Linked DNA regions of Homo sapiens: regions 2, 3, 4, 5, 6 and 7 are each linked to region 1. The links are contacts of gene promoters, found by promoter capture Hi-C in blood cells and fetal thymus (Javierre and others, 2016). All regions are on one chromosome and are shown on one strand. Each heading gives the region's core, a stretch centred on a gene start or on the middle of the fragment in contact. The rest is flanking DNA. Distances are from core to core; before and after follow the strand shown. Region 1 holds the start of SLC44A3 (solute carrier family 44 member 3). Region 2 overlaps ABCA4 (ATP binding cassette subfamily A member 4). Region 3 overlaps ABCA4 (ATP binding cassette subfamily A member 4). Region 4 overlaps ABCA4 (ATP binding cassette subfamily A member 4). Region 5 overlaps ABCA4 (ATP binding cassette subfamily A member 4). Region 6 has its middle 5.0 kb from the start of ARHGAP29-AS1. Region 7 overlaps ARHGAP29-AS1 (ARHGAP29 antisense RNA 1).

What was found. The method cuts DNA at HindIII sites, captures the fragments that hold promoters and counts their contacts. A CHiCAGO score of 5 or more calls a contact.
Region 2: a fragment that was not itself captured here is called in contact with the fragment with the promoter of SLC44A3 in region 1 in 2 of 17 cell types (fetal thymus and total B cells); the score reaches 6.9 in fetal thymus.
Region 3: a fragment that was not itself captured here is called in contact with the fragment with the promoter of SLC44A3 in region 1 in 3 of 17 cell types (fetal thymus, total CD4 T cells and total B cells); the score reaches 7.4 in fetal thymus.
Region 4: a fragment that was not itself captured here is called in contact with the fragment with the promoter of SLC44A3 in region 1 in 8 of 17 cell types (naive B cells, erythroblasts, monocytes and 5 more); the score reaches 10.8 in naive B cells.
Region 5: a contact is called between a fragment that was not itself captured here and the fragment with the promoter of SLC44A3 in region 1, in 1 of 17 cell types (fetal thymus). The highest score is 5.2, in fetal thymus.
Region 6: a fragment that was not itself captured here is called in contact with the fragment with the promoter of SLC44A3 in region 1 in 1 of 17 cell types (fetal thymus); the score reaches 5.1 in fetal thymus.
Region 7: a fragment that was not itself captured here is called in contact with the fragment with the promoter of SLC44A3 in region 1 in 1 of 17 cell types (fetal thymus); the score reaches 5.0 in fetal thymus.

The regions. Positions count from the first base shown.
Region 1 is chr1:94,818,421-94,822,616 of GRCh38, reverse strand. It overlaps SLC44A3 (solute carrier family 44 member 3), which reads right to left and starts at 2,260. Exons shown (of 15, transcript NM_001114106.3): 1 at 2,139-2,260; 2 at 1,561-1,668. The coding sequence starts at 2,165. It overlaps SLC44A3-AS1 (SLC44A3 antisense RNA 1), which reads left to right and starts at 2,385. Exons shown (of 6, transcript NR_160780.1): 1 at 2,385-2,661. RefSeq lists a silencer at 2,067-2,256. The HindIII fragment of the contact is 9,215 bases long and covers 1,214-4,196 here.
Region 2 is chr1:94,010,858-94,014,333 of GRCh38, reverse strand. It overlaps ABCA4 (ATP binding cassette subfamily A member 4), which reads left to right. Exons shown (of 50, transcript NM_000350.3): 39 at 2,949-3,072; 40 at 3,405-3,476. Among named protein-coding and RNA genes, the nearest start is that of GCLM, 100 kb to the right of the region's middle. RefSeq lists an enhancer at 2,524-3,023. The HindIII fragment of the contact is 3,950 bases long and covers 252-3,476 here.
Region 3 is chr1:94,028,542-94,031,248 of GRCh38, reverse strand. ABCA4 (ATP binding cassette subfamily A member 4) reads left to right here. Exons shown (of 50, transcript NM_000350.3): 28 at 129-253; 29 at 723-821; 30 at 1,618-1,804. Among named protein-coding and RNA genes, the nearest start is that of ABCA4, 91 kb to the left of the region's middle. The HindIII fragment of the contact is 1,520 bases long and covers 491-2,010 here.
Region 4 is chr1:94,047,540-94,051,191 of GRCh38, reverse strand. ABCA4 (ATP binding cassette subfamily A member 4) reads left to right here. Exons shown (of 50, transcript NM_000350.3): 18 at 2,235-2,324. Among named protein-coding and RNA genes, the nearest start is that of ABCA4, 72 kb to the left of the region's middle. The HindIII fragment of the contact is 5,773 bases long and covers 1-3,652 here.
Region 5 is chr1:94,074,098-94,078,293 of GRCh38, reverse strand. It overlaps ABCA4 (ATP binding cassette subfamily A member 4), which reads left to right. Exons shown (of 50, transcript NM_000350.3): 11 at 407-604. All of the region lies in intron 1 of LOC124904222 (a long non-coding RNA gene), which reads right to left. Among named protein-coding and RNA genes, the nearest start is that of ABCA4, 45 kb to the left of the region's middle. The HindIII fragment of the contact is 406 bases long and covers 1,404-1,809 here.
Region 6 is chr1:94,240,728-94,244,923 of GRCh38, reverse strand. It overlaps a transcript of ARHGAP29 not described here. Among named protein-coding and RNA genes, the nearest start is that of ARHGAP29-AS1, 5.0 kb to the left of the region's middle. The HindIII fragment of the contact is 1,276 bases long and covers 1,310-2,585 here.
Region 7 is chr1:94,257,653-94,261,848 of GRCh38, reverse strand. The region is part of intron 2 of ARHGAP29-AS1 (ARHGAP29 antisense RNA 1); the gene reads right to left. It also overlaps a transcript of ARHGAP29 not described here. Among named protein-coding and RNA genes, the nearest start is that of ARHGAP29-AS1, 12 kb to the right of the region's middle. The HindIII fragment of the contact is 1,098 bases long and covers 1,309-2,406 here.

The sequences.
Region 1 (4,196 bases), core at 1,011-3,510:
CTGCTTATAATTTCAGCTCCTTCCCCCAAGCCTTTGTCCAGCCCTAACTCAGGGCACACCATCACCAGTCAGGACATCTGTCACAAGACCTGAAAGCTGAACAACAGAGGCAGAAAAAAAAGTCCAAAAACAAAACACTCCTTGCTCTGTTTTAAATACCTGCAAATAAAAAATGTTGCAAAAGACACTAAAAGCCAGTGAGCTAAGAAAGGACTCTGACTCTTAAAACAGAATGCCATAGTGAGAACTTGGATATATTAAAACTTCAGACTTATTTTGCAAATGAAATGTAATTTTAAAGCAGTTTCCAGCTCCGTGCCACCTCTCAGCTGGTTCACAATTCTTCAGGCTGTGATAGGTCATCTACAAAGATTTTCCCCAGGATTCTCAGCTGTTGGGCTGAGAGTTTGGTAGTGAGGTCCTAGGTTGAAGCTGTGGAGGGGCTACGGCAGATCATTAAATCACAATAACAGCTTGAGGTCAAAGCTGCCAGGCACAAGGCAGGCCAGCTGCTCCCTGCATTTATACAACAGCAGTCTCAGATAAAAACACCAACCATCTGCGAAGTTAAGCAGAAGGTATTGTAGGTGCACTGTCTCTCCCAGCTCCTAGGGGAGAGTTCCAACGTAAGCAACAAAAAACATCTGATTATGTGTTTCAGACCTAACCTTCCACTGTGCCTGTAACCAAGCCTGTCTATGTGAAACGGGTCATAAGTGAACAAATGCCTTTCTTACTTGGAAAGAACAAACATGATATTTTAGGGCCTATTCAGATGGAATTCTTTTCAACAAAGGTAATTACTATCTGGTAGTTATTACCCTGCTCTATAAATTAATCATTTACCATGCAGCAAATAGCATGCCTTATCCTGGCATGGATGATTTCGTGAAAGTGGCCTTTGAAAATGTCGGGTGAGACGTTTTCTGCTGTTACCTACAATTCTAAAATAAGTATAAAAGCAGCAAGATTCGGCTTCCAACAGACTCTCTCAGGATTATAACCGCATAGCCTGATGGAGTTTACCAGCAATCATACATACCTCGAAATTAGAGTGGGAAAAATCATTCCTTGTTAGCTATGGTTAACAGTGTTGGCTGCTAAACACAACATATCTCTCGCGCGCGTGTGTGTGTGATGTTCAGCTAAAGGAAATGCAGTTTATTTCTAGGCTTACCCTGGCTTTTCCTTTGTTAAAGGTGCACCAAAAGCTTGAGGAATATTTGATTTGGGGGTGTGGCAGGTGCTAAAAGAACTTCTGTTCAGTAAGTTCGGAGAGTAAAAGGAGACACATTGGCCTTACTAAATAGCAATCACATTGCAAACTGTTAATTCCCATTTCCTAATGGAGTCACCCCTTAGAACATGGCCTGTAGCAAAAAGACAGCCTTTCTAGCGAGTCTAGGACAAGAATTCTCCCGAGTACAAACTGATGTTTATTGTGGGTTAACGGCAGAAGTCTCTCACTGCAGCACCAACTACGATTTACATTTGGGACAGAGTTATTTCCAGACGTGCACACACACTCTGGCCTCTTTCCTACCAAGCACCCACACTTACCAAACCAGTCCAAAAGAGAAAGAACAGGAATAACCATGCCGTATCTGTGCATTTCCTATAAATCTGGGGTCGCCACTCCCTTTGCCTAGGGGCTCCTTCTGCAGAAACCTTCCAGAAAAAGGGAGAGTTGAGAAAAAGAAGATAAACAGGTGGACTCAACCTGGAAACCGAACCCAAATCTACTCGAAGAGGGGCCAAAGTAACCAATCTTTTTCTAAATTTTTAAAATTAATATTATTTTTTTACGTGGCCACCTGAAGCTCTTTCACACAGCCTTTGAAACACCTGCTCTGCGCGGAGCGGATGTTAAGCCCCCTGCCGCCAAGTGCTTACCTGGAGGTGCACCTGAGGACGACCCCAAGTTTGCGCCCCGCGGCCCGCGTCTCCCCCGCCTCCGCCCCAGCACTGGAGCAGGGTCCAGGTTCCTCCCCGCCAGGTGGCCCCAAGGTACTAAGCGGGGGCGGGATCCCCGAGGCGCGGGAAAGGCGGAAGCGTCCGGCAGGGAAGGTGCGTGAAGGCGGGGGACTCGACCCTTCCCCGGGGCTCCTCCCCCGAGGGCCGAGGCTGCGAGCGCTTACCAGGTACTCGGCGCCCAGGCAGTGCATCGTGCGCTCGCCGGCGGGGGCCGGTGACTGGGAGCCGCCGCCGCCTCCTGTACGCGGAGACGCAGCGCCCGCGAGCCGGGGCCGGGGCCGGGGCTGGGGCTGGGGCTGGGGCTGGAGCCGGGGCCGGGCCGGGGAGGGGCGGGCACGGTGCAGCGCCGCCTCCCGTTCGCCTCTGCGCCTGGCCCGGCGACTGCGGGCGCTGCGGTCCACTGGGTCCGCCTCTTCCCGGCATGGGTTTCTGCCCAGCTCACCCGCTGTCAGCTGGGGTCCTGCTCTGGTGGGAGGAAGAGGCTCAGACGCTTCCCTGCCCTCTCGCCTCAACCACCTCGAGGCAGCGGCTCCCAGGATGTGCACTTTGACGACTAAAGCTGAGCCGGCGCCGCCACGACCTTGGGCGGGTGGTCGGCCTCTGCCCTGAGCAGGAAGTAGAAAGTCTCAGCAGACCCTTCCTGAGGGCCGAGCAACAGTGTAGTGGCGTATTCCACATAGCAAACAGGTAAGCAGCATTTACTGTGTGCTGGATTCTGTTCTCACTGCTATTGTTATTCCTAATCTACGGAGGAGGGAAACTGAGGCACGGCCATTGGTGATGCAACTTGTTCGAGGAGACCCAGTAAGTTGTGGAGGCAGGAGTCGAACCCAGACACTCCGGGAGACCGGCGCTCTCGAGGTGGTTTACTCTGACTTCTCTCCCACCTTGCCTTAGGACAATCATTGCCTGACTTCGCAATTGAAATGGTAGTGTCCACTGAAGCGACTGGTGGCATAGTTTTCCAGGTAGTGTCAGACCAGCGCAAAAGCACTGTTGGGGTGAGGAATTTAAAAAACGAAAAACAAAAAAAACTGCAGGCCGACCTCCCCCCACCTCCTCTCAATCAAGCCTCTACCCTTCCCCCTGCCACCCTTAGGGTTGCTAGGTTAATTGCTTCCTTTAGGTGCTGCTTCTCCCTAAGGGTAGAAACCTGACTGGAGGAAAGATCTGGGTAAGTGGGAGAAACTGGGAATGATAGACAGTGGTTCTCTGGTGCCAGCGATTTCCTTCTGGGCTCACACCACCCTCCCACTGCAAACTCACTGGGCCTTCCTGGATGCATGTTTATCAGACAGAGTAGGTGAAACCCCAGGGGAACATGAATTCATAGGACAAAGAATTAGACACTGGAGGAGTGCAACTACTGTTAAAAGACCACAACTGAATAACATATGCCATCTGAAACTGATCAGTAGAGCAGATGGACCAAGATTTTTAAATAAGCATGATAAATTTATTTAAAATGAGTTATGATATTAGCAATATGAATCAGGAAAAAATATGAAACTAAAACATATTAAGCATAAAAATAATAATTAGAATGAATATTGATGCTACGTATTAGTAATGTGCAATAGTCTAAAAGATGCAGCTGACGATGAATTAGTAATTGGAAGAGCACTTTCAGCAAACCTCCAGAGGCAGTAGAAAATGTTTTAAAAAACAAGTTAGCTTATTTGTAAATTTTCTAGCTTATATCTAGGGTAAAACTAGAACAGAAAGGAAGAAATATAAAAACAGAGAAGGGGAAATATTTGAAGATATAATGGAGATAAATTTCAAGGTAGAAAAAAACCTTCAGATTGAAAAGGTTTATCTCAAGCAAAATGTTTCTATATGTAAGTATTTAAAAGCATAACTTTGAACTTATTTTCTATTAAGCCATATTGTCATTAGAATGTGAGAATGTATTAATAATAAAAATATTCTTATGAAAGATTCATTTGAATGACATTCTTGGAGGACATAATCAAGCAAGAAGAGAAACAAATTCAGGAGATGATACAATAGATATAGCATGAGAGTGGCCAAATATTTAGGCTGAATTTATTGTTGTGTTAGAAAAAAGACCAGGAACCACCCAAGTGTCCAGGAACTGGTGGGTGGCTATACATAACTGTGATGCATCTATACGATGAAATACAACTAAGCATTAAGAAGGAACAGACTTCTTACATATGCAAAAACATGGATGATCTCAAATGCATGTTAAGTGAAAA
Region 2 (3,476 bases), core at 977-3,476, 810 kb after region 1:
TCCTTCCCCCGTCCCTCCTTCCTTCCTTTTTCATTGCTTCCTTCCTTCCTTCGTCCCTCCTTCCCTTCCTCTTTCCTTCTGCCCTCTCTCCCTTTTTCCTTTCATCCTCCCTCCATCCCTCCCTCCATCCTTCCTTCTTTCTTCCTTCTTTCCTTCCTATAAGCACCTTTTTCATTTCTGTGCTCTGAATGAAATGGTTTTCTGTGTTTATTCTGCAAGCAAAACTTGATTCTTGCAATAAACTTTAAGCTTTGCTTACTCTTTCAGAAAGGTTTTCTCAGGGACTTTGGGTGTTGGGTTTTACACACACACACATCAATACATTTGGGTAATTTCAAAATCTAAAAGGAACAAAAAGGCATACAATGAAAAAATCTCCTTCCTACCCCTGTTTCCCACTCATGCAGTTCTCTTCTCCAGAGGCAAACTCTTACTTGAGTTTCCTGTGTGCTCTGGAGACACATCAGCAGATCCCTATACGGTCTTTCTCCCGCTTTCTTATGGAAATTGTAACACTCTGACATATACTATTCCTTGGGCAAGTTAATCTTGATGAAGAGACTGGGTGTTCTCCATGCTGAATGCCTCACTTTTATGAGCTGCCAAGCCCAGTTGTCCCTTCCACCTGACCTCCCCCTGTCCAGAGACAGATGGCCAAACTGAATCATAAAAAGAGGGGGAAAAAAAGAAGGCAGTCGCTGCAGGGCTGTCTTTACTCCACACTCCACACTCCCAGTCCCCACCGCTGTGTCTGAGTCCTGGCTGTGGCTGTCCTTGGAACATTTGCCTCACCACGTGCCTGTGTCCCCAGGCGCCTCAACCTTTCCTCTCCTCATTAGCTCTTCCCAGTTCAGAGGGTGGGACCGGCCAGCACATCTGCACTGCTGCCCTGCCACACCCACCTCCACCTGCCTCTGGGCCCCACTGGGGAACACAGGACAAATCTGTGCGGAGGCCCCACCATGAACCGCCCAGACCCGTGGACCCCTGAGACTGACTCTTTCCAGATCTTGTTAGGGTTTCGTGGCTGCTAGGCAAGTAACGAAGCCTCATCTGTCCCATGAATGATAAGAAATTCAGCATGTCAGAGTCAGACTCTGGAAAGGCGGGGGGATAAGAACACAGCCCCAGCAGATGGCCAGAGCACCCAGGTGACTGAAAGTGCTGCTTTGCAGAGCTGTGTTTGCCACAGGCTCACAGCCCACTAAGTCTTAAGACAGTTTTCCTTCAGAATAATTAAATAGCCAGCTTAAAGCAACTCAGAACATTTTCCCCTCTGAGGCTGCACCCATTTAGCCAACATTTGCTAAGCACCCGCCTTCAAAAACCTGGTATTTTCATGTAAATTATCCGATACACAGCTGCTATGGAAACCCCCAGTATCCCACAGGAAGCTCCCCAGCTCCCAGCAGCTGCCGGCCCGTGTGAGATCAGGAGGTCTTTACCAGCTGAACACCACGTGCCGGGTGTGTGCTGATATAAACAAGCGTGGCCCACTCGTCCTGCCCTCCAGAGGCTCCCGTTCCAGTCGGAAAAGGACCTGCCCACGAAGTTTGCAACGATATAAGCCACAGTGTATGATCCTCCATAATACAGCGTGTGACAGAGCAGCAGAGGAGCGAGGCAGATAACATGCTGCAGGCCAGAGGCAGCGGGAAGAGCCAGGCTGCAGGGGCTGGGGGAGCCGTGGTGGAGGAAGTTCAATTTCAGCCTGTAGATTTCTATTAGCCCATTTAATAAATAATGAAGTGCCTACTCTGAGCTAATCATTGTGCAGGTATTTAGGAAGGACAAAAAAATAATTAGGACTCAGTGCCCACCCTCCAGGGGCCCACTGACTAGTAGAGAAAGTAGGCAGATTTTTAAAAAATTAATCATGGGAATGTGATAAGTGCTGGGAGAGAGGAATGGATACTTTCTCATGGGAATCTTGGAAGGCTTGTAAGGGAAGGCACTCTCTGAGCCAGCTGTCTAAAGAAGAACAGGAATCTTTAAGAAAGCAGAAGGGAAAAGAGCATTCTTTCCTGCTTGGAGCAATAGGTAACAGCCTGCACATGCCCAGGCCTAGAGGCCAAAGAGCACAGTGATTCCAGAAAGAGTGGGGAGAAAGGGTAGGCAGGGAAGGATGAGGTAATGTGGGCGCAGGTGTGGAGGCTGGAGAGGGAGGAGGTTGTGGGACTGGGAGGAGCCAGATGGAATGGACAGCAGTGGCCCAGCCAGGAGCTATGCTGGCCTCGTACGCCTCGATGTCCCTTCTATTTTCTCAGGGGAGGCTCTGCCCAACATGCCAAGTCCGACCACTTGAAAACAAGTCCCTGGCTTAACACAGACCCCAGAGAGAGTCTCCAACCCTCCTCTCCCTAGACAATGGTAGTTGCCCTGTGAGGGGCTGAAAAGCAGAGCTGGAGATGGCTCAGGGCCTGGTGTTAACAAATGCCTTGAGGGCTCCTGTTGTTTCAAAGTGAGTCTGCAGGGAGAGCTCCCTAAGTGGACAGCAGGAGGGCTGCAGCTTCTCTGCACATTCCTGCTGTCACCCCCAGAGTCACCTAGGGGAGGGGTAAGGACAGTAATGCAGGTTCCTCACAGTTAGCCTCGGTGCCCACATGGTACTGAGCATAGTAAATGTTTAGAAGATGCTGCCTGGCTAGACAAAGGGGAAGCTCCCGCCCACTAGAAACTTGCAGGGAGCCCCAGTCCTTGATTGGTCATTTAATTGATTAGCTCCTTGGCCTGGCCTTGAGGCACTGCTTGTAAGTACTTCATGACCTCCATTGCAAACCCATGATGCTCTGCTGGACAAATCCCTCCAGTGGCCAGTCTGGCTGCAAGGACTCTCTGTCTGCAGGCCTTGCCCTGTGCTGTCCTGTGAGAGCATCTGGGCCCCACCTGCTGAAGAGAGGGGGGGTGGGGTTTGCCCCGTTTCCAACAGTCCTACTTCTCTGTTTCAGACGCTGCTCAGGTTCAACGCCGTGCTGAGGAAGCTGCTCATTGTCTTCCCCCACTTCTGCCTGGGCCGGGGCCTCATTGACCTTGCACTGAGCCAGGCTGTGACAGATGTCTATGCCCGGTTTGGTGGGTGGTAGCCGAGGCCCATGGAGCATGGGCCCTGGGTCCAAAGCTGGGAGGGTTACCGGGGGGGCTCCTGCATCAGACTGTGGCAGGGGCTGGTGCTAGGAGGGGACCTTGTTGGGCTGGAGGTGTCCTGCCAGCTGGAGAGGATTAGGGTGCCTCTGTTTCCATGGCTGGGGAGCCACAGGAGGGATGGAGGGCAGCCCTTATGAGGCGGGTGTTTGGCTCTTGCTCAGTTCCCACATAAGGCCTGGTCTAGTGGGCCCTGTGCTGTGGCCAGGTCTGTGGGGTGAGCTGGGGCGGCTGAAGTGGACTCAATTCCTGTTGATGCCCAGGTGAGGAGCACTCTGCAAATCCGTTCCACTGGGACCTGATTGGGAAGAACCTGTTTGCCATGGTGGTGGAAG
Region 3 (2,707 bases), core at 1-2,500, 790 kb after region 1:
CCCTCTCCACCAGGGGCTGATTAGGAGGCTGCAGGATAAATGTTTAAAAGAATGAAGATGTGTGTGCACGCGCACGTGTGACATCTCCATGCCACAGTCATGTTTATTCCACGTCTATTCTCCCACAGATCGTGCTCCCGGCTACCTTTGTGTTTTTGGCTCTGATGCTTTCTATTGTTATCCCTCCTTTTGGCGAATACCCCGCTTTGACCCTTCACCCCTGGATATATGGGCAGCAGTACACCTTCTTCAGGTGCGCGGACTCGGGGTCACCATTCTCCTCTGTGGGTTTGGGGCACCTGGGTCACATGCTGCTTAGAAGGGCCCTGACCTTCCCACTTCACTGGGACCTTCACCAATGAGAGAGGGGAGGGGTCTTTGGGCTGCCTGCAGAAAGGAACTTAATGTATCTGCCACTGCTTGGAAAGGCGATCCTAGTGGACAGGCAGGACTGCTTGGGAAGGCCGAATGGGGAAAGGAATGCAAAGCTTAGGTGAATGGGTTGAAGCGCCATCTTTTTGAGGCATAGGTGACATGCCATCAGACCACTGCGAGTGTTCAGGCAGCCTACCGCACTCCCAGGAGAGCTAGCGCCATCCCAAGGCAGCATTCGGTGCCTCCAATACATACCTGGCACACAGCAGCTATCCAGTAAAGGCTCTGAGTTGCATGATGTTGGCACGCGCCTGCTCTGTCCCAGTCACATGTCTCACTCTGTCTAGCATGGATGAACCAGGCAGTGAGCAGTTCACGGTACTTGCAGACGTCCTCCTGAATAAGCCAGGCTTTGGCAACCGCTGCCTGAAGGAAGGGTGGCTTCCGTAAGTGCCTACGCGCCCCTGTCCTAAGAAGACTAGCTCCCCTGGGAGGACCCAACGGTGGGTTCAAGATGGCAGGCGTTGGGGAGGCCCCACTCAATCCTGCTCTGCTGGTCACTTCCATGTCTCTGACCAGCACTCCCCCAACCTCTCCTTCCACACTTGTGTGCAGGGACATTCACTACCTCCTAGGAAGCCCCCACACCACTGGACAGCTCTATATTTCTCAGCATAGAAGTTCTATGTTGAGTTGACAGATGATTCCCCATAACTTATTTGAAAGGCCTCTGAGCAGGGAGGGAGGGAAATAGGGTTATGCTATTGTGTGATTGGGCCTTGAATGGCGTGAGTGACACAGTGGCCAGTACTTTGTGATAGTTGTGAGTCTGGAGAAGGGAGTTAGCGAAGGCCATTGACATCCACCAGGAATCCTAAAAGTTCAATATAATTTTAACTTTTCTCCCTCAGTCTTTTTCAAAGCTGTCAATAAGGACCAAAACAGACTAATTTCAAATTCCTCTTCTGGTTGCTGTGTCTCTCAACAGCTAGAGCTGCTAGGAATAAAAAGGGAGACAAAACGATCCACAAGCTAGAGATGGTTATTCCCCAGCCCCACACCTAGTCAGTCACAAAACCCTAGTTTTGATATTGCTTGAGCAGAAACCAGCCTCCAAGAGAATAAGAAGAAAGGGCCTGGGTCTAAAGAGGAGGAGGAAAGGGTTGGGCACAATTTCTTATGCCTAGGGATTTGTCAGCAACTTTGAGGCTGATTATGGAATATTTTCTTGTCTTCCATGAGGGAGTACCCCTGTGGCAACTCAACACCCTGGAAGACTCCTTCTGTGTCCCCAAACATCACCCAGCTGTTCCAGAAGCAGAAATGGACACAGGTCAACCCTTCACCATCCTGCAGGTGCAGCACCAGGGAGAAGCTCACCATGCTGCCAGAGTGCCCCGAGGGTGCCGGGGGCCTCCCGCCCCCCCAGGTACCTGACCTCCAAACAACGGGGCCCCAGGTCTGCCTGCCACAGAGGGACTAGGGGAGTCCCTGGTATCTCCTGAGTCTCTCACAAACTAACATTTCAAACTGGCAGTTGAGTAGGGGACTAAACCAAACTCCCTGCACCCTCTGGGAGGGGCTCCCCACAGGGCGCTGTGGCTGCCAACTGGAGGAAGCCACTCACCAAAAGCTTCATTTTCCACCAGATACTTCCTATTTGATCTAGTAGAAAAAATGTGTTTAAGCACTAAAAAAAATTAAGTCATATGTGCTCATTATAGAAAAATTAGAAAACACAGGTAAGTCAGAAGGAAAAAAAATCATCGCTTGGATATAAACACAGATAATGTTTGGTTTGCAGCCACCCAAACAGATTATATTCCAAATATTGTCTTAAAATCTGATTTACTGCATAATTTACTAGGAACATGCATCCATGTCAATAAATAGACATCTGCATCACTTTTAATATCTGTATATTATCCCATTGTTTGAATTTCTTTTTTTTTTTTTTTTTTTTTTTTGAGACAGAGTCTCTCTCTGTCACCCAGGTTGGAGTGCAGCGGTGTGATCTCGGCTCACTGCAACCTCTGCCTCCCAGGTTCAATTCTTGTGCCTCAGCCCCCCCGAGTAGTGGGGATTACAGGCATGCACCATCATGCCCGCCTAATTTTTTTGGTAGTTTTAGTACAGATGGGGTTTTACCATGTTGGCCAGGCTGGTGTTGAACTCCTGGCCTCAAGTGATCTACCCACTTCTGCCTACCAGAGTGCTAGGATTACAAGCGTCAGCCACTGCTCCTGGCCTAAAGTTACTTTAAATTAACTGATCTCCCATTATTCGCCACTTAGGTTTTTTAGTTTTCACCATTATAAGCAATGCTATGATG
Region 4 (3,652 bases), core at 276-2,775, 770 kb after region 1:
ATGAAGACTCCTCCTGGGGCTGAGGCAGAGCTGTTATCTTCAGGGCAATACCTCAGATTCTCCTGGTGTTGATCTTTCTTAGGGGTGGGGAAAAAGGCTGAAAGGGCATTTGCCCACAACACATCTTAGGTAAAAGGCACCTTTACTACTGAACCAAACAGGAGGCCTAGCTAGAGAAAGTTCTAGAAGCAGGGAAAAGCACAGACTCTTTTGTGAGGTCTGAGAAAGCAAAGAAATTCCAGGGTGAAAGCGGGGGACTCCCCTAGAGCTGAAGTACTCTCCCATCTGTTTGTTGCTCACCTACCTATTCTTTACTTTGTATTATTGGGCCTGGGCCAGGACTTATCCTGCAAGCACTGAGATGGATGTTTGTTTTCTCTGGGGGATTAGTCTTTTTTTTTCTTTTTTTCTTTTGTTTTTTGCTTTTGTTTTCACTGGGTCAAACAAACAACACTTTAACAGCTCAGGATTTTTTCATTGTATTGACTTGTCTACCTGTAAACTTGTTAATTTTTTACTATAATAAAATTATCATATAATAAATGAAAAATTTCAACACAGGGCTTGTGGGCATTTTATTTTTCTCTACAATCCCAACAGATACTCTGCCTCTTAAGAAAAAAAGAAATCATAAGGAAAATATGCTCCTTCAAAAGTGAATCACAAATATGTTTGCCAACGGAAGGCAAATATTTTTCACCTGTCTCATAGGCTGGACTGAAATGGATTTCTAAAACTCTCTAAAACCAGAAAAGAGCTGAGTGTCTCCACCCAACCTCCCTCCTTTCACAGATTAAAAAATAAAAAATGGAGCCCAGGAGACATCCAGTATCTTCCCCTATTGGTCACCTGGGACAAAATCTGGAACATGCACATGCATTGCCTGGCAGGAACTCATTCCAGTGATTAAACTCTTCAGGAGGATGTTTCCTCTTGCTATTTCATTACCTATTTGTGCAGTTTGATAGCTAGTAAAGTGATCAAAGGAACTGTGGGGCATAGATTCAAAAGTCCTTCAGGAAGCAGAAATAGAAGAACAGTACTAGAGGCAGCAGGTCCCTGACCAGCAGGCCCACTACCTGCTGCTCCAGCACACATCCTGCACATTTTCAGAGGGTGGGGGACAGAGGGGCCCTGGGTGGCTGTTGCATTGAGAAATCTCGCCCTGCTCCTGTATGTGCACTTGAGGCCGAGAGCCCTTGGATGCCTGGTGACAGTGGTTTCCTCCTGCCCCTGCCTTCCTCTCTGGCAGACTGACTGGCCCTTCTGCTCCTCTTCCCCTTCCAGGATGTCCTGATATCTTTTTAAACCAAATGCCAAGTTTGCCAAAAAGTGTCTGTTTGTGTGTGTGTGTGTGTGTGTGTTCAATGCGTGTGTTTATACCACACTTCACAATTTGTCCAGGCTTGTATTAATACCATCACCAGGCTCAACCCTGGTGTTAATTCCAAGATACTTAAATGCCCATCTAGGTGAATTTCTCAGGTAAACCATATATTCAAGCTGTAGTTTAAGCTGGCTGCCCGTCATAGCACTTTGAATAGACTTTGTTTTTGTTTTTGTTTTTTGAGACAGAGTCTCACTCTGTCGGCCAGGCTGGAGTGCAGTGGCACTATCTCGGCTCACTGCAACCTCCGCCTCCCGGGTTCAAGCGATTCTCCTGCCTCAGCCTCCTAAGTAGCTGGGATTACAGGTGAGCGCCACCCCACCCGGCTAATTTTTGTATTTTTAGTAGATACGGGGTTTCACCATGTTGGTCAGACTGGTCTCGAACTCCTGACCTCATGATACGCCTACATTGGCCTCCCAAAGTGCTGGGATTACAGGCGTGAGCCACCACATCCGGCCCCTGAATAGACTTTTACTCAAGGTTCACCATGACTTTCACATGTTTTGTATTGGAGTAAAATGTGCCAGTGGTGGGCTAAAGAAAATTAACTCATTTCAAATTCAAACCTGGTTTTCTTAATTTTTTTAAAATCACAGTTTCTGAAACTGTGGGCTCCTCATGGCACATTGAGAGGAGGAGGTGAAACTCTCCAAGTCTGAAGCTCCTGTTATAAATCTTCCTCTGGCAAAGATTGTGTGATCAGGCTTGAGTACCTCACAGTCCTAGAGCAGGTCAAAGGCTGGCTAGGAAACTCATTTGCTCCCTGTACCTCTCCCCTCCTTTCCTGCCTTTGCTCGTTCTCAGCTCCCGGTGGTAGAGTAACACTGGCTTCTGATTGGTGCAGGGTGTTCAACCAGAGAAGAAAGAGCCCTGGAAAAGACCGAGCCCCTAACAGAGGAAACGGAGGATCCAGAGCACCCAGAAGGAATACACGGTAAAACCCCGATAAAGAATACACAGCAGAGGCGAGGAAAAGGCTCTAAGCACTGCAGAGGGCCAGAGCAAAACATCTCATGGCAAGGGTGGAAAGAAGCCTAGGAAACTGACTCTCTCTGTGGACAAGTGTTAAACCAGATCCCTTCTCAGAGGTCCATCTGCATGTGTGTGGAATGAATGGTTCAGCCCAGACATTAGCGCATATTTCCTGGAGAAAGCAAATACCAACTATGTAGTGTGCCTGTGCCCTTGTTAGGCAAATCCCAAGTGAGTTGCACAAATGTGCTGACTTCCGAGGATTTAGCAAGAACAATAACTTTGGTCACTGGGACTTAAAGCGGATATGAGCTATAAGGAAAGACAAAAATAAATGCTTCTGTGTCCAGGGGGAAAGAGACTCCAGGGGAGCTGACTACACTTCACTTACGGCTTACAAATCTAGAAGGCCATTCATTGAAACCATCAGAAGCCTTTCCTGACAGTGGAAGTTACCTAATAATCCCTAAACTGACGACCCAGATTTACAAGTTTTGTTTTCCTGGCTTTTGCTGCCCTCATCTTCTCTCTTAAACTAGTTCTGTATTTCTCCCAAGGCTTTTCATTCCCTAAGCATACGCATTTCTCTGTGGCCAAAATGCTCTGGGTTTAGACAGGCAGCACAGCCCCTGGGCTCTGCCTGACAGGGCAGGAGAGGGTCTGGCCTTTATCCCTCCAGCCCACCCCAGGGGCCATTTCATAAAACTAAAGCCAGAGACCTGCAGCCCCTCCCAGAGTTAGACTGCAGTACACCATGCCTCTGGCAAGATCCTCCTCCCACAGTGGAAAGTCTAAGCCAAATCAGGAGGCTGGGGACTGGTTCCACCTCAGTTGCAGGCAAGGCCAGGAGGCACGGATAGAAGAAACAGTGGACTTTTTCCCCCTAGGGAAAGAAATGCTTAGAGCTACAGTATTAAGATGACAAATTAAGCTGTGCCATATAGGGTGAAATGAAGCAGGGATAGATGGGAGGTCAGGGAGAAGTGAGAGCACTCGGTGAGGGTCTGCACTGGAGGGGGCATGGGAGGAAGAAGGAGGGGAGTGGGGTTTGAGGGATGGTGATGAGGAAGCGTGGACTGCCCTACCCACCTATTGGAAAACCTGGGAGTTCTGAGGAGCAAGAAGCCTTAGTCAAAGTCAACTCAAAGATTCAAGCCAAGGTGACTAAGAGAATGGCGGTCCAGAAAAGGTCATGGGAGAATCTGAAGGCAGATGTTGTTTTGGGAAGATGAAGAACCTAAGCCGCTTCCAGAAATTCATGAGGAAATGCCCCGTGGACTGTTGGCAATG
Region 5 (4,196 bases), core at 357-2,856, 740 kb after region 1:
ATCTCCCCAAGGGGCCAGCTCTGTAACTCCAAAGATGGTGGAATGTGTTTGTCTGGTCTCATTTTCAGCTTTGCAAAATGAAGACAAGAGTTCTATATATCAGGGACACTCAAAAGAAAACAAAAATATCCATAAGCAAAAGAAAGCTTTTTATACACCATATTCAATGACCCCCATCTGGCCCCTCCTTTGCCCCTACACATCTTCCCTCTATTCTAGAGACCCATGGACTTGGGGAAATGGGATATAGATAGGTATGTTTCATAGTGGAACAAGCTCACCAGCTCTTCAGGGAGCCTTAGCATCTCTATCCTCAATCACTAAAAATTAGAAATGGCTGAAGAACAAGACCAAAGATCCTATGGAATTTCTAAGCAGAGCAGTGACTGTATTTCTTCTTCCCAAGGATACCCTGGGGAACCCAACAGTAAAAGACTTTTTGAATAGGCAGCTTGGTGAAGAAGGTATTACTGCTGAAGCCATCCTAAACTTCCTCTACAAGGGCCCTCGGGAAAGCCAGGCTGACGACATGGCCAACTTCGACTGGAGGGACATATTTAACATCACTGATCGCACCCTCCGCCTGGTCAATCAATACCTGGAGGTAAGGGGCTGCAAGCCCCACAGTGGGCCCCTTGAAGATAGCCCCATGAGTGGGGCCAGAGCTCCCTTAGCAAGTCAAGTGGTCTTGAATTTAAGCTTTCATTTTCCCCACTGAAGAAACAAGAATCCCTACATCCCCTGTACAGTTCTCATTCTCTAACAGCTTATCCATACTTAAAACTTATCTATGCTGAAAACGGTTTCCTCTTCACATCTCCTACTTCTCATGCTGGGCACCTCCTCCTGTAGCCCCCTTTAAGCATCTGTGTCTGTCCTCAACCCTCTTCTGTCTGACATTGCTTGAGTGGCCATCTATGGCCAGTGTCCCCTCAACCCCACAGTCCATTGCTTGCTGGACACTCCTGCCCTCAAGTTCTACAAGCACATCAGCCTCAACATGTCCCCTCCAAAAACTGTATGTTCTCCTTGCCCATAGAACATATCCTTCTCCTATATTTCCTATCCTAATTAACGTCCTCAGCATTTGCCCGAATTCTCAAGTGAGGGATTTCAGGGTCATCCCTAATTTTCCTTCTTCACCCTCCACACAGTAGCTGTCACTTACTGAGTGTTACTTTATGCCAAGTACTGTGCCAACTGCTTTTACACACATATGCTTCATTTAATTCTCACAGCTCCATGAGGCTTGCACCATTATCATTGCCAATTTGCAGATGAGAAGCCAGGGCTTAAAGAGGTTAAATAAGATCCCACGCATGACCATTAAGAGGAGCGAACAGGATCCAGCTCTGGGGGTGCCTGAGTTCAGAGCCTGCCTTTCTGATTTCTCTTACCAAGCTTTGTCTCCTCTCCCTCCTAAATATCTCTCAACTCTGCCTCTTGCATTCCAGGCTCTCTGAGGACTAGAGGCCTTGTCATCTCTGCGCCAGCCCATTCCAAGGGCTTCCTTCCTGGAATCCAGGGTCCAGCCTCTGTTGGCCCAGGCATTTCTCTACACTGGCACCAGAGTTACATTCCGCACACCTGCTTACGTTGCTCTCTCACTTAAAATCTTAATGACTCGACCCCCAAATAACACAGGTCCCTTCCAAATCTGTCCTACCCCACCTTCCCAGCCCTTGCTCAACTCTGCTACCTGGCCCTTTCACGCCTACAGGCATTCCCATTCCATGACCTCTTGGGATTCTACCCTTTGCAAATGCTGTTTTCATTGCCCATTTATTAGAGCGCTTTTGGTCACAAGCTTTTTGCTTAACCAAAAAGAAAGCATTTATTGGTGGACATAAATAATGAAGTTCAGGAGGATCCAAGAGTTGGAAGCCACCATGAGACCCCTGTGTCCTTCCACCTCACTTTTCTACTCGCCTCTGCTCAGCTTCATCTCTGGCCAGGCCCTCTCCTCTGCTGATGCCCTAGCTGCTTACAGCCCTTAGCAGTCATCTATACACCAAAAATCCCTTTCCCATAGCAGAAGCAATGCTCCTAGAGAGTTTCCCTGTTGGTCTGGCTCCTGTACCCACCCCTGTGTACTCTGATTGGGAGGCCTGGGTCAGCTGCCCACCATGGGGCCATTTCTATGAGCAGGATTACTGTGAAGTGGAGGAAGATGTTTCCCCAAAAGAAGAAACACAAGGTAGAAAAGTGTATGTCCACCAATGCCTGAAATGACTGTCCCTTTCCTCATCTGCTGAGCTTCTACTCATTCATTCTTTGAGACTCAGCACTCAGCTCTTAAATGTCACTTCTGCTTTGATGGAGGTTTAGTCATTCACTCCTCTGTGCTTCCTGGCCCTCTCTTCACACCTCTCTCAGACCCCTCTCCCAGATAGATTAGAGTTGGCTGTTGACATGTCCATCTCTGGCTGGGCAGCTAAACTGGAGTTATTTAGAATCAGGGAGCACATGTCAGTCATTTTCAAATTCTCAACCTCATACTCCCAGTAAATGACTCCATCTAAGGGTGGACCACTCTTGCCCATGGGCCAGGTCTGGGTCTGTGTCATCTAGAACTGTTGGAAGGTAGGGGCTTCTGTGAGCAGTAGGAGAGGGAATAAACTCGAGGGCCCTCGGGAGCATGCCCTCTTGTCTCAGACTTGTGAGTCCTGAGGATAACAAACTAGTGAAGAAAAGCCTCGTTCTATCTGTCACCTGGTGCTCTTGAGGACTTTCTGTTGCCCTGGTGCCACCACAATTTTCCAGAGTGTGTGACCCTCGCTCTCCAAACTCTGGAAGTGGCAGCCGAGGCTCCCCAGTGGCCTTTCAGAAGGTGCCAGTCATGACAGCAGCACCAAACTGCAGGCAACTACTAAGCGATCACCAACTTGTCTGAAGATAAGAATGACCTTGAATGCATTTTATAAAACAGGATTTTTTTTTTAATTTTTAGATTTTCTTTCTTTATTTTACCTTAAGTTCTGGGATACAAGTGCAGAATGTGTAGGTTTGTTACATAGGTATATGTGTGCCATGGTGGTTTGCTGCACTTGTCAACCCATCATCTAGGTTTTAAGCCCCACATGCATTAGCTATTTGTCCTAATGCTCTCCCTCGCCTCGCCCCTACCCCACCCCAACAGGCTCCGGTGTGTGATGTTCCCCTCCCTGTGTCCATGTGTTCTCATTGTTCAGCTTCCACTTACAAGTGAGAACATGTGGTGTTTAGTTTTCTGTTCCTGTGTTAGTTTGCTGAGGATGATGGCTTCCAGCTTCTTCCATGTCCCTGCAAAGGACATGATCTCATTCCTTTTTATGGCTGCATAGTATTCTATGGTGTATATGTACCATATTTTCCTTATCCAGCCTATCACTGATGGGCATTTGGATTGGTTCCATGTCTTTGCAATTGTAAACATACATGTGCATGTATTTTTATAGTAGAATGATTTATATTCCTTTGGTTATATACCCAGTAATGGGATTGCCTGGTCAAATTGTATTTCTGGTTCTAGATCCTTGAGGAATCACACTATCTTCCACAATGGTTGAACTAATTTACATTCCCACCAACAGTGTAAAAGCCTTCCTATTTCTCAACAGCCTCACCAGCATCTATTGTTTCTTGACATTTTAATAATCACCATTCTGACTGGCATGAGATGATAGATACCCATTTGTCAGATGGGTAGATTACAAAAATTTTCTCTCATTCTGCAGGTTGCCTGTTCACGCTAATGATAGTTTCTTTTGCTGTGCAGAAGCTCTTTAGCCTAATTAGATCCATTTTTCAATTTTGGCTTTTGTTGCAATTGCTTTTGGTGTTTTAGTCATGAAGTCTTTGCCCATGCGTATGTCCTGAGTGGTATTGCCTAGGCTTTCTTCTAGTTTTCATGATTTTAGATTTTACATTTAAGTCTTTAATCCAGCTTGAGTTAATTTTTGTATAAGGTGTAAGGAAGGGATCCAGTTTAAGTTTTCTACATATGGCTAGCCAGTTTTCCCAACACCATTTATTAAATAGGGAATCCTTTCCCCATTGCTTGTGTGTGTCAGGTTTGGCAAAGATCAGGTGGTTGTAGATGTGTGGTGCTATTTCTGAAGCCTCTGTTCTGTTCCATTGGTCTATGTGTCTGTTTACAAAACAGATTCTTAAGCATCAACCCAGATCGACTGGCTCAGAATTTCCAGGGAAGAGGC
Region 6 (4,196 bases), core at 698-3,197, 580 kb after region 1:
TTTTATTGGATTGTTGTTTTATTTTTATTGAATTGTAAGAGTTCCTGATATATTTGGTTACAAATTCTTTGTCAGATATTTTCTCCCAATTTGTGGCTTGTGTTTTATTTCAACACTGTCTCTCAAAGAGCAGAAGTTTTAAATTTTTTTGTTCAATTGTTTGTTGTTAGTGTATAGAAATAAAATTGATTATAGTGTATTAACTTTGTATTCTGTGACCTTGCTATATTCATTTATTAGATGTAGTAGCTTATAGGCTTCTTAAGATTTTTTTTTAAGTCCCCAACCCACCATCTCTGAGTATTTTACTTCTTTCTTTTTAAATGTGAATGCATTTTATTTCTTTCTCTTGTCTTACTGTACTGGCTAAGACCCTCAGTAACAATATTAATCCTGATCTTAAGGAGAAAACCTGTCGGTTTTTTTTGTAGATGCCCTTTATCAGATAGAAGAAATTATCTTCTATTCCTACGTTGTTGACTGTTTTAATCATGAATGGCCATGGAATTTTGTCAGATGCTTTTTCTGCATCTTTTGAGATGATCACATGGTTTTTTTCTAGTGAATGTTAAACTAAGCTTGCATTCCTTGGACAGACCCTTCTTGGGCATTATGTATTATCCTTTTTATATATTGTTGGATTTGACTTGCTAATACTGTGTTAAGAAATTTGTTTTTTGTGTGTGTTTTTGTTTTTTTTGTGTGTGGTTTTTTTTTTTGGTAATGTCTTTGTCTGGTTTTGGTATCAGGGTAATGCTGGCCTCATAGAATGAGTTGGGAAGTGTTCTTGTCTCCTGTATTTTCCAAGAGTTTGTATAGGATTATTTTATCTGGTTCAGTGAATTTTATCAGTGAAGCTCATGTAGATGTAGTTTTCTTTGTGGGAAATTTTAAATAATGAATTCAGTTATTTAATACATGTAGTGCTATTAACATTTTCTGTTTCTTGTGTCAGGGTTAGTAATCTGTGTCTTTCAAAGAATTTTTCCATTTCATCTGAGTTGTTAAGTTTATTGGCAAAGTTTTTTGTAACATTCCCTTGTATCCTTTTATCCTTGTGTCTGTAGGGTCTGTACTGATGTCGTTTCTTCCATTCATATTAGTGATTTGTGTTTTCTCTATTTCTCGATCAGCCTAGCTAGATATTTATCAATTTAATCTTTTCAAAGAACCAGCTTTTGGTTATATTGATTTTTTTCTGTTTTCTGTTTTCTAAATCACTGATTTCTGTTCTTATCATTATTTACTTCCTTCTGCTTACTTTGGGTATAATTTGCTCTTTGTTTTCTAGCTTCTTAAAGTGGAAGCTTAGATATTGACTTTAGACCCTTCTCTTTTACAATAAAGCATCTAAAACTGTGTATTTTATCTAACCATGACTTTTACTTTGTAATCTCCACATTTTGAAATGGGTTTTCATTTTCATTCAGTTCAAAATATATTAAAATTTCCCTTGTGGAAATTTGACCCATTGGTTATTTTAAAGTTATATTTTATAATTTACAAATATTTGGGGATTTCCTGACTATCTTTCTGTTACTAGTTTCAAATTTAATTTTGTTTTGATCAGAGGACATACACTGTGTGATTTCAGTCCTCTTAAGTTCATTGGGACTTCTTTTTATCCCATATATGGCCTATCTTATGAATATTCCATATACATTTGAAATGAATGCATATTCTGCTGTTTTTTGGTGGAATTTTCTGTAAATGTCTATCAGGTCAAGTTGATTGATAGTGCTATTCAAGTATTCTATGTCCTTAATGATCCTTAATGATTTTCTGTTATTCTATCAATTACTGAGAGAAGAGTGCTGAAATCTTAACTGTCATTGGGGATTTGTCTATTTTTTCCATACATTTCTCTCAGTTTTTTTCTCATACTCTGGACCTCTATTTTTGGTACAGATACCTTCAGGATTGTTGTCATTATGATGAAATGACTCACTTATCATTATGAAATGTTGCTTTTTATCCTTGGTAAAATTCTTTGATACCTATATTATAGAGCTACTTTGGCTTTCTTATGATTAATATTTGCATGGTGTGTCTTTTTCTGTTGTTTTACTTTCCATGTATCTGTGTCATTATATTTCAAGTCTGTGTTTTAATAGGAAAAATATAGTTGGGTCTTACTTTTTTACTCACTCTGAGAATCTCTGCCTTTTTATTGGGCTGTTTATATTATTTATATTTAATGTAATTATTGGTATGATTGGGTTTAAGTCTGTTACTTTGCTGTTTGTTTTTTTATTTGTTCCATTTGTTGTTTCCTTTTTCTTCTTGTCCTGCCTTTTTTTTTTTTTTGATTTTTTGAAATTCTATTTATGCCCACTATTGGCTTAATTAACTTTATCTCTGGAGATTTTAGTATATATTTTTAACTTACAGTATACCTTCAAATAGTATTACACTACTTTACCTATAATGTAAGAACCTTACTGTATACTTTCATTTCCTCCTCCTTTACGCTATTGTCATAGATTTTGCTTCTGTATATGTTATAAATGCCACAACATATTGTTACTACTTTGTTTTAAACATCAGCTTTTAAAAAAATTATAAAATGTGCCTGTTTTGAAGCTTTGTTGGGGTGTGGCTAGAGTATAGTTTTCACTAAAGCTAGGTTAGATGTACTATGAGGCATGCCCTGGGGTCTCCCTGGGGTGTTCAGTAGGTCTCTCTACTCTGGCTGATGAAAATGTGGAGTTCTTCCAGCCCTGTGGGAAACCTGGGAATCGTCCATCTATAGCTTTCTGGAAATTATTTGCCAATCCTTGTTGTGTTTTGCTGTATACATGTGCATCTTGGTGTTCAGCAAGATAATTAAGAAATTCCCTATGCAAATTTCTGGAGCTCTTTCTTTTTCTACATCCTTAGTCTCTGGTACTCTGTCCTACAGATTCTGGCAACTCCAATCTCCTGGAACCATGATCTCTGTCTCTTCAAGTTGTCAAGGGTGCTATGGTCAAGAATGTGACTTTAGGCAGAAAGTTGGGGTAATTGTGGGGCTTACCTCATTTGTTTATGATCCCATCTCTCAGAGATGACAGCCCTGAGCCCAGTGCGGTGTGTAGTTCGGTGTCTGAAAACAATATATATTTTGTCCATTTTTCTAGTTGTTTACTACAGGGAAGAGTATGTCTGTTTTTATTTATTCCTCCATTTGATTTTATATATATATATATAAATATATATTATATATAAATTATATATCATATATAATTACATATATAAATTATATATATCATATATAATTATATATATAAGATATATATATAATTATATATAAAATTACTATTTTTTGAGACGGAGTTTTGCTCTTGTTGCCCAAGCTGGAGTGCAGTGGTGTGATCTTGGCTCACTGCAACCTCTACCTCCCAGGTTCAAGCGATTCTACTGCCTTAGCCTCCCGAGTAGCTGGGATTACATGTGCACGCCACCACGCCCGGCTAATTTTTTGTATTTTTAGTAGAAATGGGGTTTCACCATATTAGCCAAGCTGGTCTCAAACTCCTGACCTCAGGTGATCCGCCCGCCTCGGCCTCCCAACGTGCTGGGATTACAGGCGTGAGCCACCGCACCTGGCTGCATTTGATATATCTTTTAAGGATAATCTAGAGATTTTTCTTTCCATCTTTTTTCCTGCAGTTTATTTGTTGAAGAAATCACGTTTATGCTATAAAATGGCCCACAGTCCAGATTTTTCTGGGTATATACTGTGGCATAATTTAACAAGTTCTTAGGTCTTATAGTTTTTTATAAAGTGGTAATTGGATATAGAACAGGGTGTTTCACCTTGACACTATTGACCTTTTGGGCAGGATAATTCTTTCTTGGGGATGAGGGTAGTCCTATGCATGTAGGAAGTTTAGCAGTATCCCTGTCCTCTGCCCACTAGATGTCAGTAGAATCCCCCTCCCCAGTTATGACAACAAAAAATGTCTCCAGATATTGTCAAATGTTTTTAGACCCATGTTCTGCTATGAAAAGTAGGCTACCTAAACTACAGAATTGTCTTCAGGAAGATGAAGTAAAATTAACAGTACTGGTAATGTCACCACTGCAGATAGAAAGAATACTAATCTGTGCAGTCTGGTACCACAAACATTTTGAAGAGAACACATGAGGAAGATTTGGGGAATATAAAAGTTAAGGCTGCACCGAATGGCTGACTTGAACAGTGTCATAGAGGA
Region 7 (4,196 bases), core at 608-3,107, 560 kb after region 1:
GAATCTATAAATCACTTTAGGCAATATGGCCTTTTTAATGATTTTGATTCTTCTTATCCATGAGCATGAGATGTTTTTCCATTTGTCTGTGTCATCTCTGATTTCTTTGAGCAGTGTTTTGTAGTTCTCCTTGTAGAGAACTTTCACCTCCCTTGTTAGCTGTATTCTTAGGTATTTTATTATTTTTGTGGCAATTGTGAATGGAATTGCGTTCCTGATTTGGTTCTCAGCTTGACTGTTGTTGGCGAATAGAAATGCTAGTAATTTTTGTATGTTGATTTTGTATCCTGAGACAGCTGAAATTATTTATCAGCTTAAGGAGCGTTCAGGTCAAGACTATGGAGTTTTCTAGGCATAGGATCATTTCAAGACTCCAAATCTTAACCTTACTTCTAAACTACAAAATCGTCTTAATTTTGTTGAGATGTAGCTACACTTGACCTGCACGCATAACACAGTAAAGCCAAATGAGACCCAAACTTGTGATAGTAAACACAAATAAGTGTTTATTACTTCATTATGTTCAATTATGGAGATGAAATTACATTAAATGAGATCAGTGTTATAATAACCTATGTGCCTTGATTTATAAAGCATGTCTGAGCTTCTGCAGCAGGTGAACTGGAAAAGGGGAAGCTACAGAGCTGAGGTAAGAAGGTCTGGCCAAGCAATAGTAAGGGACTTTCCAAGTGTTGATGTCTAAGAGGAGAGTGTACATTCAGAATCTCTGGATAGTTTCCAAAAAGTCCAATCTGATGGAATTCGGTAGTGGAGATGGTGGTTTCATGGCCTGGTTTTTTAATGTTTCAAGAACAGAGACACATTTACCTTAGTTAATGGGGGTGCAGAATTAGGAAGGTGGCATTGCAGGGATACACAGGAGGTTGTAAGGAAGTCAGGAAACACTCAACAGCTGCACAGCTATGCCTCACAGAGACCAGAACATAATTTATAAGATAGAAGCTGCTTTAGAACACAATGCAGTTTGAGTTATCCTGTGGGCCCTCAGACACCAGCATCAGCTGCCTTAATGCTCTGCCACTTTTATGATGATGCAGCTGTTCTTGTCTCTGTTTGACTATTCCTGCCACTACCAGCCAACTTCCTTCATTTTTCTTTGTCTCATGGCCTCAGCTCACTAATGGCGCCTGCTATCACATGGTTTCTTTTTCTGTGTGTCTTTCCAATCTCTCTACCTACTACCAACAGCAAGTCCCCCATACCCCTACAAAGCATTCTATTTAAACTCTCCAAGACAGAAGGTCCTATTAGTGCTATTGATTATTCTTTCCTTCATTAAGTAAAGCTTCCTTGCCAGATTACTCCATAGAACACTGACAGGCCTACAGACGAGCTGCTCTTGGACCAGATACCCAAATTTGATTGAATCAGCTGAGGATGGGATATAGGAGCTTGTGACCAGCTTTCTTCAGAGTTGCTATGGGCATTCCAAAATTGAAAGTGTAAGAAATCCCTCTGCAATGCAGAGAGTCCATCAGATTTGAGGCAGGGCCCCTCTGGGGGTAAGAGAAAGGAAGGGATCTGTCTTTAGAGAAACGAAAGCTGGTTTGGTTGTCAGAATCGTAGTCTCAAAAGGGAAACTGAGCCAGAAGCCCCTCAGATAGACAGGGCAAACATGGCAGAAAATGGGAAAAGGCTACCATATAATGCACACTCGAATGTCCATGGCTCATCCCAGGCATAACAGATTTTAGGCTTGTGATGACGTGGCAAATGGTGGTAGACATTGGTAGATGGACTTCCTAAACACAAGCAAGTCTTGCTCAAGATTAGATCAGAACTAAGCCATTTTGAATCAACACATGGAATGCCTCTGGTCCTCTACAGAAACTCCGTAGAGACTTTTGCATTATGCAGGGAGGACACTTTTCCTCTCTGAAAAGTTCATTCTTCGGCCAACAGTGAGTCAGAAAATGCTCTCTGAACTTTTGACTTGGGAGCTTTGAAATTTAAACTTCCAACACAGATTCCTGTTCCATCTTGAAAGGGCATTTTAGTATTTAAATTTTTTTCTTTATCATGTGTATTAGTTTCCTGTGGCTGCTTTAACAAACTACCACAAACTTGCATCACTTAAAACAACAGAAATGGATTCTCTCACAGTTCTGGAGGCAAGGCAGGCCCATGCTGCCTCTGTAGTCCCTAGAGATGAATCCCTCGTTGCTTCTCCCTAGTTTCTGATGGTTGCCGGCAATCCTTGGTGTTCCTCGGCTTACAGGTACATTGCTCCAATTTCTACCTCTTCCTTTATACAGGTATCTTCCCCTTGTGTCTCTGTTTTCTCTTCTTGTACGGACAACAGTCACTGGATTAAGTCCCACCCTAATCCACTATGACCTCATTAGAACTAATTATATCTGCAAAGACCCTATTTCCAAACAAGCTTACATCCTAAAGTTCTGGGAAGACATGCATTTTATGGGGACATTATTTGATCCACTACAACATGTCCAATCTTTGGTCAAATTAATACTAGAACAAAAATTCTATGCTTTTCCTAGTCTCTGTTGGATGAGGTATATTCATTACTTGTATTTCTAAAATGGATACAGGTCACAGAGATGACTGGAATTGTGAAATCTCAAATCTTTGACCAGCTGCCCATCACTGGCAGAGTTCCAAGGAATCTAGGCAAAAGGGACAGACACCTAGTAAAAGAACACTCCTTATGACTACTTGGGAATTTGGCCCTAAACCCCACTGCCTGTCCCCACCCACCCTTGTTCTAGAGATTTGGGCTGAACCACTTGGCCTGTGTTCTACATACCTGAATGAAAGCAAGAAAATATCTTCTTGCAGACTCAGAGTCAAGACTTTATGATTTTCCATGGTGACAAGAGCTCAAAAATGACTCACCCAAATGAAAAACACCACAAGGGAAAGAAAAACTTGATCTCTCTACAGTGGGAAGCAGCAGACACAGAGGATAAAGATGTGGGTTTTTTGAGTCAAGTCTGACATGAGTTCAGATCCCTGGTTTTGCCACTTACTAGCTGGGTGAACTTGTTCATATTAATTAGTCTCTTTAAGTCTCAATTTCCTCGTTAGAGCAATGGAGATCATAATATCTTCCTTATAGGTGATTGTGAAGAGTAAATAAGATAATCTATGTAAGACCTTACTACATAGGAAGCGCTAGTTATAATCATTACTAAGGCCTTGAACAACTGGCCTAAACTGCCCCTATCAGGCCTGTTGTCTCCTGGACCCTTCCCTGATTACCACTGGAACTGCCTAAAGCAGAAGGCTTTCCCCTGTGGGAGCCCCCTAAGACCCTCTCTCAACAGCCCATGAGAGCTAAGGTCTCCAAAGAGGGAAGGCAAAGAACACTGTGGTATCAGCTAGAGTTTCTAACTTACAGATGACAGACTGGCAGCTCTCAGGCCAGATTCCACCTCTCATGATTTTTATTTGGCCTGGACAATTTTAAAAATTTGGAATTTATTGTCCACATTAAAAAATTCAGAAATGTTCTATAAAAATCCAAATTCCTGGCTTAAAAAATTGAGAGACCAGGTAATACTGAGCATAAGTTCTCCTATGACTAGAGGGCACATTTACTGTAATGTACAAATTGGCACACTTCTGAGAGTGAGAGAAGGGTCTATCAATAATTTTACCTGAACAATTAGTGTTAACTGAAACTGTCCAGGGCAAATTAGGAATGGTCATGTTACCCATGACTCCAGTGGTCTGGAGGTAAGTAGGAATGGATACTTCCTGCAGGAGGTCTTGTCTCTCTGTTTGTCTAGGGTTTTGAGTTTTGAGCTTCTATTTTAATACTTTGTCATATCATACCTAATACTTGGTCCTCCAACACCAGAATCCAACATCCCTGATCGGGGCTTCTATCATCATCTTCCTTCTCTAAGAAGGAAAAGGTATGGAGTGAGTTATCAAATCAGTGCATATGCTGGACTTCATTCAGGTGCTCTCAGGGGTTCTGATAAGATTTCCAATAGGGCACAGACTACCTATACAATGTTGGCAACACTCTGTCATCATCCAGTGCCTATTAACTAGTCCTTGCTGCTGTTATAGAGCATATATCATTAGGATAATGTCACATGTGTCATAGATACATTGGAAGCTTTTCTTCTCCTTCTCCTTCTTCTTCTTGAGACAGGATCTCCCTCTGTCACTCAGGTTAGAGTGCAGTGGAACAATCACAGCTC